Linked DNA regions of Homo sapiens: region 1 is linked to region 2. The links are contacts of gene promoters, found by promoter capture Hi-C in human tissues and cell types (Jung and others, 2019). All regions are on one chromosome and are shown on one strand. Each heading gives the region's core, a stretch centred on a gene start or on the middle of the fragment in contact. The rest is flanking DNA. Distances are from core to core; before and after follow the strand shown.

Evidence for each region. Contacts are between HindIII fragments. The study calls those that stand out against the background at their distance.
Region 1: a contact is called between a fragment that was not itself captured here and the fragment with the promoter of ZNF248 in region 2, in 1 of the 25 tissues and cell types used here (spleen).

The regions. Positions count from the first base shown.
Region 1 is chr10:38,415,399-38,420,753 of GRCh38, reverse strand. LOC101929540 (a long non-coding RNA gene) reads right to left here. Exons shown (of 10, transcript XR_007062122.1): 6 at 5,152-5,210; 7 at 3,550-4,072. Among named protein-coding and RNA genes, the nearest start is that of LINC00999, 10 kb to the left of the region's middle. The HindIII fragment of the contact is 4,889 bases long and covers 1-4,677 here.
Region 2 is chr10:37,853,658-37,858,913 of GRCh38, reverse strand. It overlaps ZNF248 (zinc finger protein 248), which reads left to right and starts at 1,304. Exons shown (of 6, transcript NM_021045.3): 1 at 1,304-1,729; 2 at 2,382-2,479; 3 at 2,577-2,618. The coding sequence starts at 2,604. It overlaps ZNF248-AS1 (ZNF248 antisense RNA 1), which reads right to left and starts at 1,165. Exons shown (of 2, transcript NR_186559.1): 1 at 413-1,165. RefSeq lists silencers at 812-1,361, 1,058-1,434 and an enhancer at 1,752-1,811. The HindIII fragment of the contact is 12,949 bases long and covers 1-5,256 here.

The sequences.
Region 1 (5,355 bases), core at 984-3,483, 560 kb before region 2:
GTACATGCTGTGCCAAAAATGCACTACAGCCCCCACCCAATTCTGCCTAATCCTAGCTGGGCTGACACCAACCTGATGAGACAGGACTATAAGATCTCAAACTAAAACAGAAACTCCTGAACTGGATTCTTTCGAGCCCAGGAAGCAGCAGTAAATCATTAAAGAACAGATACGTTCTTAAGGTGAGGGACAGTTTCAGATAAATGGAATGCTGGTAGAACACAGGGCCCAAAGGAGCAAAAGTTAACGTAAGCCCAGGTAGAACCTTATTTACTAGAGTATTAGGCATGGGTTGGGGCAACTATTCTAACCTGAGAAACTGGCTTCAGTGAGGGCAAGTTGGCAATCCAAGGTATAGCATGCATAGGGCTGGCAAAATTCAGGGTGACTGAAGCAAAAGCTTCAGAACCAGAAAGACCACATCTGAGGGTAGAGCACAAAACTCTCAAGAGATGAATCTTTGTAAGAGTGAGGCAGAACTACATAGCAGTTTTAGGAGATCTGTTGGTGCCCAGCAAGAGCTCCAAACGGGCTATATGCAGGGATGCAGGCTGTAGTCTCAGGAGAGGAGGTTCACAAAAGTCATTCAGTCCAAGACCTCAAACTGTGTTCTCTACTAAAAGGAATCAAGGTTCCCTAGAGAAATGGCTGACTCCATGTATGGTGCAGTATATTGATCCTGGAACATCTTTTTTGCCAGAAAGCAAGGAAGCCATCAAAGTCCAACAGGATCCCGTCAAAAAGACATGAAAGTCAACTTGAAGAGATAATTATTAACCTAGATGAGACAATGAAAGCATCCAAAACAATAAAGACTGTAATGGCCTGAAATACATCAAATGCAAACAATAATCTATGAGTTCATAATGGTATTCAGAAAAAAAACTACTGGTCATTAGAGGGAAGGTTACTAGGTCACTAACTTACTACTCTGAAAAGTGACTTAAGATGAGAGGTAGGGTGGAGAATTAGCTATTTATTCAGTCTTTCCTGTACAAACATAAATTTTTAGGGAGATTGAAGCAGACAAAACAAATCTGGAAAAATGGAGGTAACTGCTTAATCTGCGGGTTGGGTGCATGGAGGTTCAACATATTTCTTTTGTGTATATTTGAACCCCCTACAAAAAAAGCACAAGACAGAATGTGAGCCAAGCAGCTTAGGGTTTAGGCAAGGCTTCTGCCTACAAGAGACACTAGGATATGAGGGGTAGTTTTAGCCCTGATGGGCTGAGCCAACTGGAGGTATATAGGGAGGTGCTAAATTGCAGAGGTATCATGTTGCCCAGCACTTGATCAAATCCTAGATCCTAGGTCTGCTTGGTAGCATGCTTCCTAGGTAGTGGATCTGAGGCTACCTATAGAACTTCCTTTGCAGTCATAATTCACTCAGAAACTACAAAAGTGCTTGCTCTTGAAAACGGAGTCTTTGTCCATTTCATGCTTCTATAAAAGAATACCACAGACTGCATAATTTATAAAAAGGAAAAAAGGAAGGAAAGAAAAAAGGAAGGAAGGAGGGAAGGAGGGAAAGACGGAAGGAGGGAAGGAAAGGAAGGAAGGGAAAGAAGGAAAGGAAGGAAGGGAAAGAGAGAAAGAGGGAAGGAGGAACGGAGGGAAGGAGGGAGGGAGGGAGGGAGAGAGAGAGGGAGGAAGGGGAAGGGAAGAAAAGGGAGAAGGGAAAGGAGGAAGAAAAGGAAAGGAAAGGAATAAATTTTATTTCTTAACAGTTCTGGATGTTAGGAAGTCCAAGGTTGAGGGGCCTGCATCTGGTAAGGGTCTTCTTGCTGCATCATCCCACTACAGAAGGCAGAAGGAAAAGAGAGTGCAAGAAAGCAAGAGGGCAAAAGGGGCTGAACTCTGTTTTATAATAAGCCCACTCTGTGATTACTAATCTATTACCACAATAACAACATTAACTCATTCATGAAGGCTATTTTATTAGGCCCCACATCCCAACTGTTGCATTGAGGATTGAGTTTCCAGCACATAAACTTTGGGGGACACATTTAAACCATAGCAGAGCACTTAGGTTAATTCAACTAAGAGGAGCTGGGAAAATCAAAGGCATGAGAAAGACAGCAAAAGCTAGCAGAGAGAAATGCATAGGTTAAGGAAAAAAGTCACAGTGAATCCTGTAGTGCAGGCTACTTTATCAAAAGCACCTAAAAAAGATCTCATTAACTCCCCCAGCTCACCTCCACCCACATCTAAAGAGCCACACACAGCACCACCAAAGGCAGCACAATGAGAACAGCATTCTCCTCAACAGACAAGCTGGGAGTATCTAGACACCTGACCTCTATAGCTCCAGAACAGCCCTAAAACAGTTCCTCCCTAAGCACCACTCAAGTCACCAGCTTGGAAAGTATTAAGAAAACCCAAATCCTGACACACCACTATGAAACAACTTAAAACAGCAAAGAACAACCCATTTAAACAGCAATGCCAGCTGCTGGGAAAAAATAGAACAATGAGTAGAGGAGAAACAGGCCTCTTGGGGTCCACCAAGACCCAGTCTCTCAGCTCCAGCACTTTCAAATGCAGAATCCATACCCCTCTGGGGCCTGTGGAGCTCCACAAGGCATGTCGTTCTCAAAGATAAATGAGCAGGCAAGCTGGCTAGAAAACCACTAAGGGTATTATTCTTTAAAGAATCTTTATAGGGTCAAAGAGGAATGGGTCTTAACTGGCTATGTGAACTCCCCACAGATTCTGAGGATGATGTCAGTATCCCTTTCCAGATGTGTTTAACACTTTGCAGTCACTTGTATTCCTGCCACTGAGTGCCAGTGCTTTGCTAATTTGCTCACGCTGACCCCAGCTCCCTGGATGTTACCATTAGCCAAGACTGTCACCCATACTGTACCCTTTCAAAGAGTCCTAAAAACAGCTCTTCACCTACTCTTCCAAGACAAGTAAAAATGTCTGCCAAAGAAATGGGGAAAAAAGATTCAGAGAGTGAAAACAATTAATATACTAAGAGAGCAAAAAGCAAAGGGGGAGGAGAAACTAGGAAAATCATATATGGGCTCACACCTATTTCCAAAGCTGGGCTAATGTCCTTTTGCCTGTGTCTGAATAAGGCACCAATTTTAAGCTGCTAATGAAAAAAAAAAGAAAAAGAGAAAGAAGCAGGCCCAGGCTGGGCGCAGTGGCTCATGCCTGTAATCCCAGCACTTTGGGAGGCCGAGGCGGGTGGATCACCCAAGGTCAGGAGTTCTAGACCAGCCTGGTCAACATGGTGAAACACCATCTCTACTAAAAATACAAAAAATTAGCCAGGCATGGTGGCACATGCCTGTAAATCCAGCTACTCAGGAGGCTGAGGCAGAATTGCTTGAACCTGGAAGGCAGAGAATGTGGTGACCTGAAATCACGCCATTGCCCTCAAGCCACGGCAATGAGAAAAAAATTCAGTAAAAACAAAACAAAACAAAACCACCATAAAATAACTCAGACTTAATTAAATACAACCCTAGTGGTGAATGACTAAAGATGGATTACTCATAACAGAGATAACAGTCCAATAAGAATCCAGGAATCTTACCTTTTAATAACAAAAAAATCCTTTCCTTCGAAAGTAACATCCTCTCAAGGCCAGGAATTCCATTAGTAGAAAGCCTTCCTAAAAAACAAAATTCCTGGCCAGGCATGGGTTCACATCTGTAATCTCAGCACTCTTGGAGGCCGAGGTGGGAAGATCACTTGATGTCAGGAGTCGAGGCGGGAAGATCACTTGACGTCAGGAGTTCGAGACTGGCCCGGCCAACATGGTGAAACCCCATCTCCACTAAAAATACAAAAATTAGCCTGGTGTGGTGGTGGGCACCTGTAATCCCAGCAACTTGGGAGGCTAAGGCAAGAGAATTTCTTGAACCCAGGAGGCAGAGGTTGCAGTGACCAGCAAGGTTGCGCCATTGCACCCCAGCCTGGGCGATAAGAGTGAAAACTCCATCTCAAAAAAAAAAAAAAAATTCCTTTGGGAAGGCCTTCTACATAAAAATCTTCAACATGAGACTGGACAAAAGGGTATGGGATCATCACTGGACCTTTGGCTTTTACAGCTCGAGCTATAAGAACAAAAAGAAAAAGGGATATCAATTAAACACAGTATGTAGAAAAGAATAATTATTGAATCTGTACTGGTCTTTAACTTTTACACTTTGATCTTTAATTCTGTTATTGTGATTGAGTCCAAAGAAAAATAGTATGAGTAAAATAAAAAGAACACCAAAAATGCTAATATTCTGTTTACCAAAGTCTGTAGTGAAATATTCCATTAAATCCAAGTGCAGTGACACACCCATAATCCCAGCACTTTGGGAGGCTGAGGCGGGTGAATCTCCTGAAGTCAGGAGTTCAAGGCCAGCCTGGCCAACATGGTGAAACCCCAACTCTACTACAAATACAAAAATTAGGCAGGCATGGTGGCAGAGGCCTGTAATCCCAGCTACTTAGGATGCTGAGGCAGGGAGAATTGCTTGAACCCAGGAGGTGAGCTTGCCATGAGCTGAGATCATACCACTGCACTCCAGCGGGGGCGACAGAACAAAACTTCAACCTCCAAAAAAAAAACAGCTAGCAGGTGACATTTGCTATGGGGAGACTAGGGATATGATCTTGCTGCAATCCTTCCATTTTAGTAAATCTAAACAGTGTGAATCCATTCTGTTTCGTCCCCACTCCACTCCAGAGCCAAAACAAGAAAATCAATTATATTTCTAGTTCTTTAAAAACATGTCTAACTAAATCATCTAATTAAAAGATAATATGCATGGTTCCATACTCTAAAAGAAAACTTATGTCCTGCATATCATGGACATTTGATGAATGCTTATTCAGTTGACTGGTGTAGACTTCAATAACAACCGGTTCAATGCATTATGCCGGATGAATCTTGCATCTCAAAAGTAGAACAAATATTGTTCTTTCAGTTTTGTCTACCCATAAATGCAATATTTACTAATAAAAAGAAAATAAGTTTATTGTTCTAGAGAGTATGAGAATTTTGACAACATGAATTCTCCTGTCCTAGGACATAATTAATACTTAGAGGCATACTATTTCATGTGGAAGCTACCATTAAATCAATGTTAAGTGTTAATTACCTCACATAATCTTCTAATCTGACTTAAGACTGAAGACTTACCTCACAAAGTTGATTTATCAAGTTGTAAATCTTTACCTGTTGAATTCATAAGTTCATGTCTGAAAGGTGAGAATAAATACTTAATATTCACTAGGCAATATTCAGCAAAGTAATATCCACTAGTACATATTTAATATTTCATCATGAACTGCGGGTGTGAAAAGACAGGCTGGGCACAGTGGCTCACACCTGTAATCCCAGCAG
Region 2 (5,256 bases), core at 55-2,554:
AACTATTTTGCAACTCTTCTGTAAATCTGAAATTATGAGCAAATGAAAAGTTTAAAAAAGTGGACAATGACCCAGGAGTTGATTTTTTAAATGAAAAGTTGTAACACACGCACATGCTCATAGTGTGCTGAAAATGCCAGATGTGCACGTAAAAGAATGTACGTGTAGTGTAGTTCTGGGTAAAGTATGGTTGGTTTTGGGAAATGAGTGCGTGCTTTCTTCTTCAAATTTGTTACTCAAACGGCTTTTTTTTTTTTAAACATATAAACAATTTTATGTTTGGGTCTTGAATTGCTAGCTTCTGTTTTTCCTTATTCCAGAGAATAACCATACTGGTCACAGATTTTAGTTTTCTCTTCCAGTCTTTCAGTTAAACGTTACCATGCATGATCGTGAATGAATTCAAGCACACCTTTCCTTCTCTTGGCTTGTGTCTAACAGGCACATTGATTTGATCCACAACCTCTGGGGACACTGACAGAATCCTGGTTCCAAGCAGGAGTGGGTAACTGAGACAGTAATCTCTCAACCCACTATACAAGGCTGTTTTGCAGGAGAGCCTTATGATGACCAGCATGATATATAATTGTGAGAAATATACTGAACAATTTATGTGTCAGACACCGGTTTAAATGCTTTTACAACGTAAGCGCCTCCAATTCTCATAAAACCCCTGCTAGGTAGGCACTATCAGCCTCATTTTACAACTGAGGGTTGCGGCCAGAGCTGACAGGCACCGTCTAGCGCCGCTTCCAAGCCCCGCATCGCATCCACCAGCCTAACTCGGGCGCTCGGCCTCTCCCTCTGCGCATGTGCATCCCCGCCTCCCGCTCCAGGCGAGTCCTTCCCTGGACTCCAGTCCCTTGTGGGAAACAATCCCTCGCCTCCGGAGGCGGCGAGGAGCGGCGGGTGAGCCCCGGAGCACTGGGCGAGGGCCAGGGGGTCCCCGCGCTGCCCTGAAGGCGGGCGGGCGGCGGCTAGACCTCGGCGGTGGGGAGGGACCCCTGGCGCCTGCGGCGACGGTGGGACGAGGGCGTCTCTGTCAGAAGGGGATGAGGTCTGGCGTGGGAACGCGAGTTCCGGGGCTCCCGGGGGTCCGTATGCGTCCAGTCCCTGCGCCTGGCGCTCAGCGAAGTCCTGTAGCACGGGGTAGGCAATGCGCACTGGCCCGAAGGGGAGGGAACTGGCTGCGGGGAGGGGACAGCACGCGCGTGCGTAGCGTGTGACGTTTGTTGTGCGCGTGCGCATGGCGTTTGATGTGTGCGTGTGCGCTTTTTGTGCCCTGAGCCCGCGGGGAGGAGGCGGGGCTGCGGGGGAGAGCGACTGCGCCAGGTCCGCGACAAATGAATTAGACACAATTATCCACGGGAGACTCGGTTTTCCTCTCTGTAAATTACGGATATTAGGAATACTTGCCGCCTGGGGTTGTTTTGAGCACTTTCATTGTTTAGGTGCTGTATTTATTGGGTGTGCGTTCCCTGGGAGAGCCCGAGGGAGACGGCTCCTGCACCGGCCCCAAGGGCCTCTCTGCCCGTGGAGTGCAGGAGCGAAGGGGCTGGCCTAGCTGACCACCAGGGCCCCTGCTGGCTCTGACCGCCCTCCTATCCCAAGTAATTATTTACACGTTTCGCGTTCGCTTATGTATTATGTGTAATCATGGCACAGTATCCTGAAGCCGTCGGAGTCTGTGTGCTGGTGCAAGGTCTGGGACAAATTTAAGAAGAGAGAGGTGAGCTGGAGCTGAGGGGTGGGCGCGCAGGCTAACAGGAACGTCACCTCTGGAGAGTCTGAGGGCAGGGACGGGTGAAAGGCTCACGGCCACAGCGAAAGAAATGCTGTTATCACCCCTCCGCGAACACCGGGCACATCCAGATGAGCTGCTGAGCTTCCTCCTCTCTTGGCCTGATATCCCCGCCGGATGGTAGTGCAGTCAGGTCATACTTGGGTTATCTGTTTTGACCTTATTTGAAAGATGGAAAAACAAAATTGAGTTTGAGGAGGTGAGTAGTTCAGATCTTGTCATTCCTTAGAGGCAGAACTGAGATTAGAAGTCAAGTCTGCAGTTTCCCGAGCCACTGCTGCCCATTTTGTTACTCTATATCACAGTTTCTCATTAAAAGATCCTTTTGAGGAATTGTTAGCAAGTTAGAACAAACATTTTTAAACTTGCATTTAACATCCTATCCCTTTTTTTAGAGGTCTTTTGCATTATCTAACCTCAGGGCATTAATGGTGTTAACAGGTAAACAGATAAACAATATGGCCTCAGTTTTTTTTTTTCCCTACAAGGAATTTTGACAAACCCATAGTGTTTTTTCCTTCAGATTACTGTTAACTTGTTAAACTCATCTTTTCATGTTTTTAATTTTTCTGTGTCACAGAACCTAAATTGGTAATAAATCAATAAGAAATATTTACATTCACTCAGTGAAAAGTGTCATGTCTGAGCTCAGCATATATCGGAGCCACACATGGACACGTAAGTATCTTGTGTGTGGACCTGTATAGGCAGGTGAATCTCCGAACTGCAAGGCCGGCGAAGGCTCTCCTGACATTCTTCCTTTCTAATCCTTCAGCTCTCCTTCCTCCACTAAGAGCGGAAAATGAACAAATCCCAGGTGAGATTCTTGTTTCTTTATTCCCAGTTTGTTTAAAAATGGATTTCTGAAGTTTATAAGGGTTTATGTTTTGAAAATGGAAAAATAGAAATAGGCAAAAATTGACATTAAGGGAAATAAAACTGAAGTAGCAAATCCAAAATAGTGCAGTTGGCAAATTAGATGCAGGATTTTTAATTTTGCAGAATTATCCAAGTTATTGTAATATTATCTCTAATTGTTCTAGTAACAATTCTGAAATAAATGCAGTAAATTGTCTATAAGTATTTCTTTGTAGAAACAAAGAACACAGTTACAGAGCAGAACTCAGTGCATATGCTTTTCAGGAGAACAAACGCTGAGGTTTGATGGTCCTGTTTGATCCAGGAATAAAACCTTGACGATGTGGAGGAATGGAGGGACTGCATGTCCTCAAAACAGTTTTCCCTAACTGTTTGTGTCAGCTCGTTCTTATTTCTAGGTTGAATCACTGACAGTTCCGACTTGTTTCTGTGTTTCTCATTTATGTTTCAATCTGATGAATGCAACCTTATTCCCTCACCTAAACTCACCTGAATCAGTTCTGGCAAAGGCCACCAAATCATAGTCAAGGCTAGTGCATGTTTTTGCCTTTGCATTACTTGCCTGGTCTGCTGCATATATTGTTAACCATGGTCTTTGTTTGGAGAGTCTCCTCTGTTGGTGTCTGTAATGCCACCCTCTGAGCTGTCCTTTCCTAACTTTGATTCCCTCCCTAGTCCTCATGAAGGCATCTTTTCTTTTTGCTCCAGGCATTGCTTATGCGTGCATTTCCATCCTTAGCCTACTTAGGTTCTTCTCGGTCTGTTTTTCCTGACTGGTTTCATTTTTTTTCCTTAATAAAGTGCTTTTGAATTAATAATACATTAATGTAATAATACATTACTTTTACTTTTTTAAAAGTATAAGTGATAACAAAAGATGTACATATATATTCACACTCCCTTCCTCTGTTCATGCAGTTTCTCCAGGTAGGGTGACATTTAATCATTAAAACCGAGACATTTTCACTGAGAGTGAAAGAGGTTCTATAAATAATTATGCTGAGACAACTGGCATATATTGGGACAGTCCCAGACTTACTGGAATGTATGGTCAACCTACCAAAGATGTCTATTTTTTTTCTAGTTTTTGGTTTACTTTGCCAGTGTTTCTTTATCCAGTTTAAAGAAAATATGTATGTATATTCTTATTTGCTTCCTCAGTTTACTTAAAAAGGAATCTGTTATCTCTAGGGCTTATCAAACTTATATGTGATTGTGCATTCCTGGCATCTTTTTAACATGCAGGTTCTGATTTAGTAGCTGTGGATGGGGTCCTTTATTCTGAAGTTCTGATAAACCTCCAGCTTAAGCTGATTCTGATGGTTGACTTACACACTATTTTCCATTATTCCTTTTTCACTTAACAGCATACAGATGTTTCTCTGACAGAACATGAATAGCATTTTCTCTCTTTGTCACAATTGCCTAGTAATTCAAGTCCATAGTTCATTAAACTACTTCCAGCTGTTTGCTATGACAAACCATGTGGTAATGAATAACCTTGTACATTTATAATTTTGTGTGTATATGTTTATATATTAGATGAATTCCCAGAACTTGATCAGCTTAGTGGGAATGCCTGTCCTAGAGATAGTATTATTTTGTTTTCCCATTGGCAATGCATGGGAATGCTTATTTCTTCACAGCTCCTCCCATAGAATATGTGGTTCAACTTTTGGATTTGGGGCAACCGATAGGTAAAAAGTGGTATTTCATATAGTTTGCATCTGCGATTTTCTTCACTGAGTGAGGTTGAATACGTTTTCGTGTGTCTAAGGGTGTCTTATATTTATTTTTCTATGAACTTAACTGTTAGTATCTTTTGCCTATTTTTCTTTTGGGTTGTCTGGTCTTTTTTCCCCCCCAGTGTCTTTTACCCTTGTGTATTATATGAGTTGCAAGCCATTATTTTTTGGTATATCATTTGTCTTTTGATAATTGTTCATGGTGTTTTTCCCTATGCAGAAATATTTGGTTATTTTTGTTGTCCAGTTTATTAATCTTTTCCTTATGGTTTTGGACTGATAGCATTTGGAGACATAGTTAGAAAGTCCTTCCCACTTGATTATAAAGAATCTGCCCATGTATTCTAATACTTTTATGCATTTTATGTTTAAATCTTTAATCCATTTGGAGTTTACTTGTATGTAGAAACTTAATTAAATTACTACAGTATCATTCCATTTACTCCACCCCCCGATGTGTGCTGTTGTTTTGATGCTTTCTTCTCCTTGTGTTCTGAACCCCACAAGGTATCTTTAGTATTACGACTTTAGAGAGTGGGTAGGCTTTCGTATTTACTGAAATAATTGCCCTTTACTGTGCTTTTTCTTCCCTTTTGCAATATCATGCTTCATCTACAGTTATTTGCCTTTACCCCAAAGAAGTTTTATTGTTTCTTGTGCAGATCTTTTGGTGACAGATTCGTCATTTTTTTTTGTTTAAAGATGTCTGTGTTTCTTCATTTTGAAGGATATTTTCACTAAAGACAGAATTCTGGAGTGAGAGCTTTTTTTTTCTTTTCTTTTTAGCACTTTAAAAATACCATTCCGGTGGCCGGGCACCGTGGCTCCTGC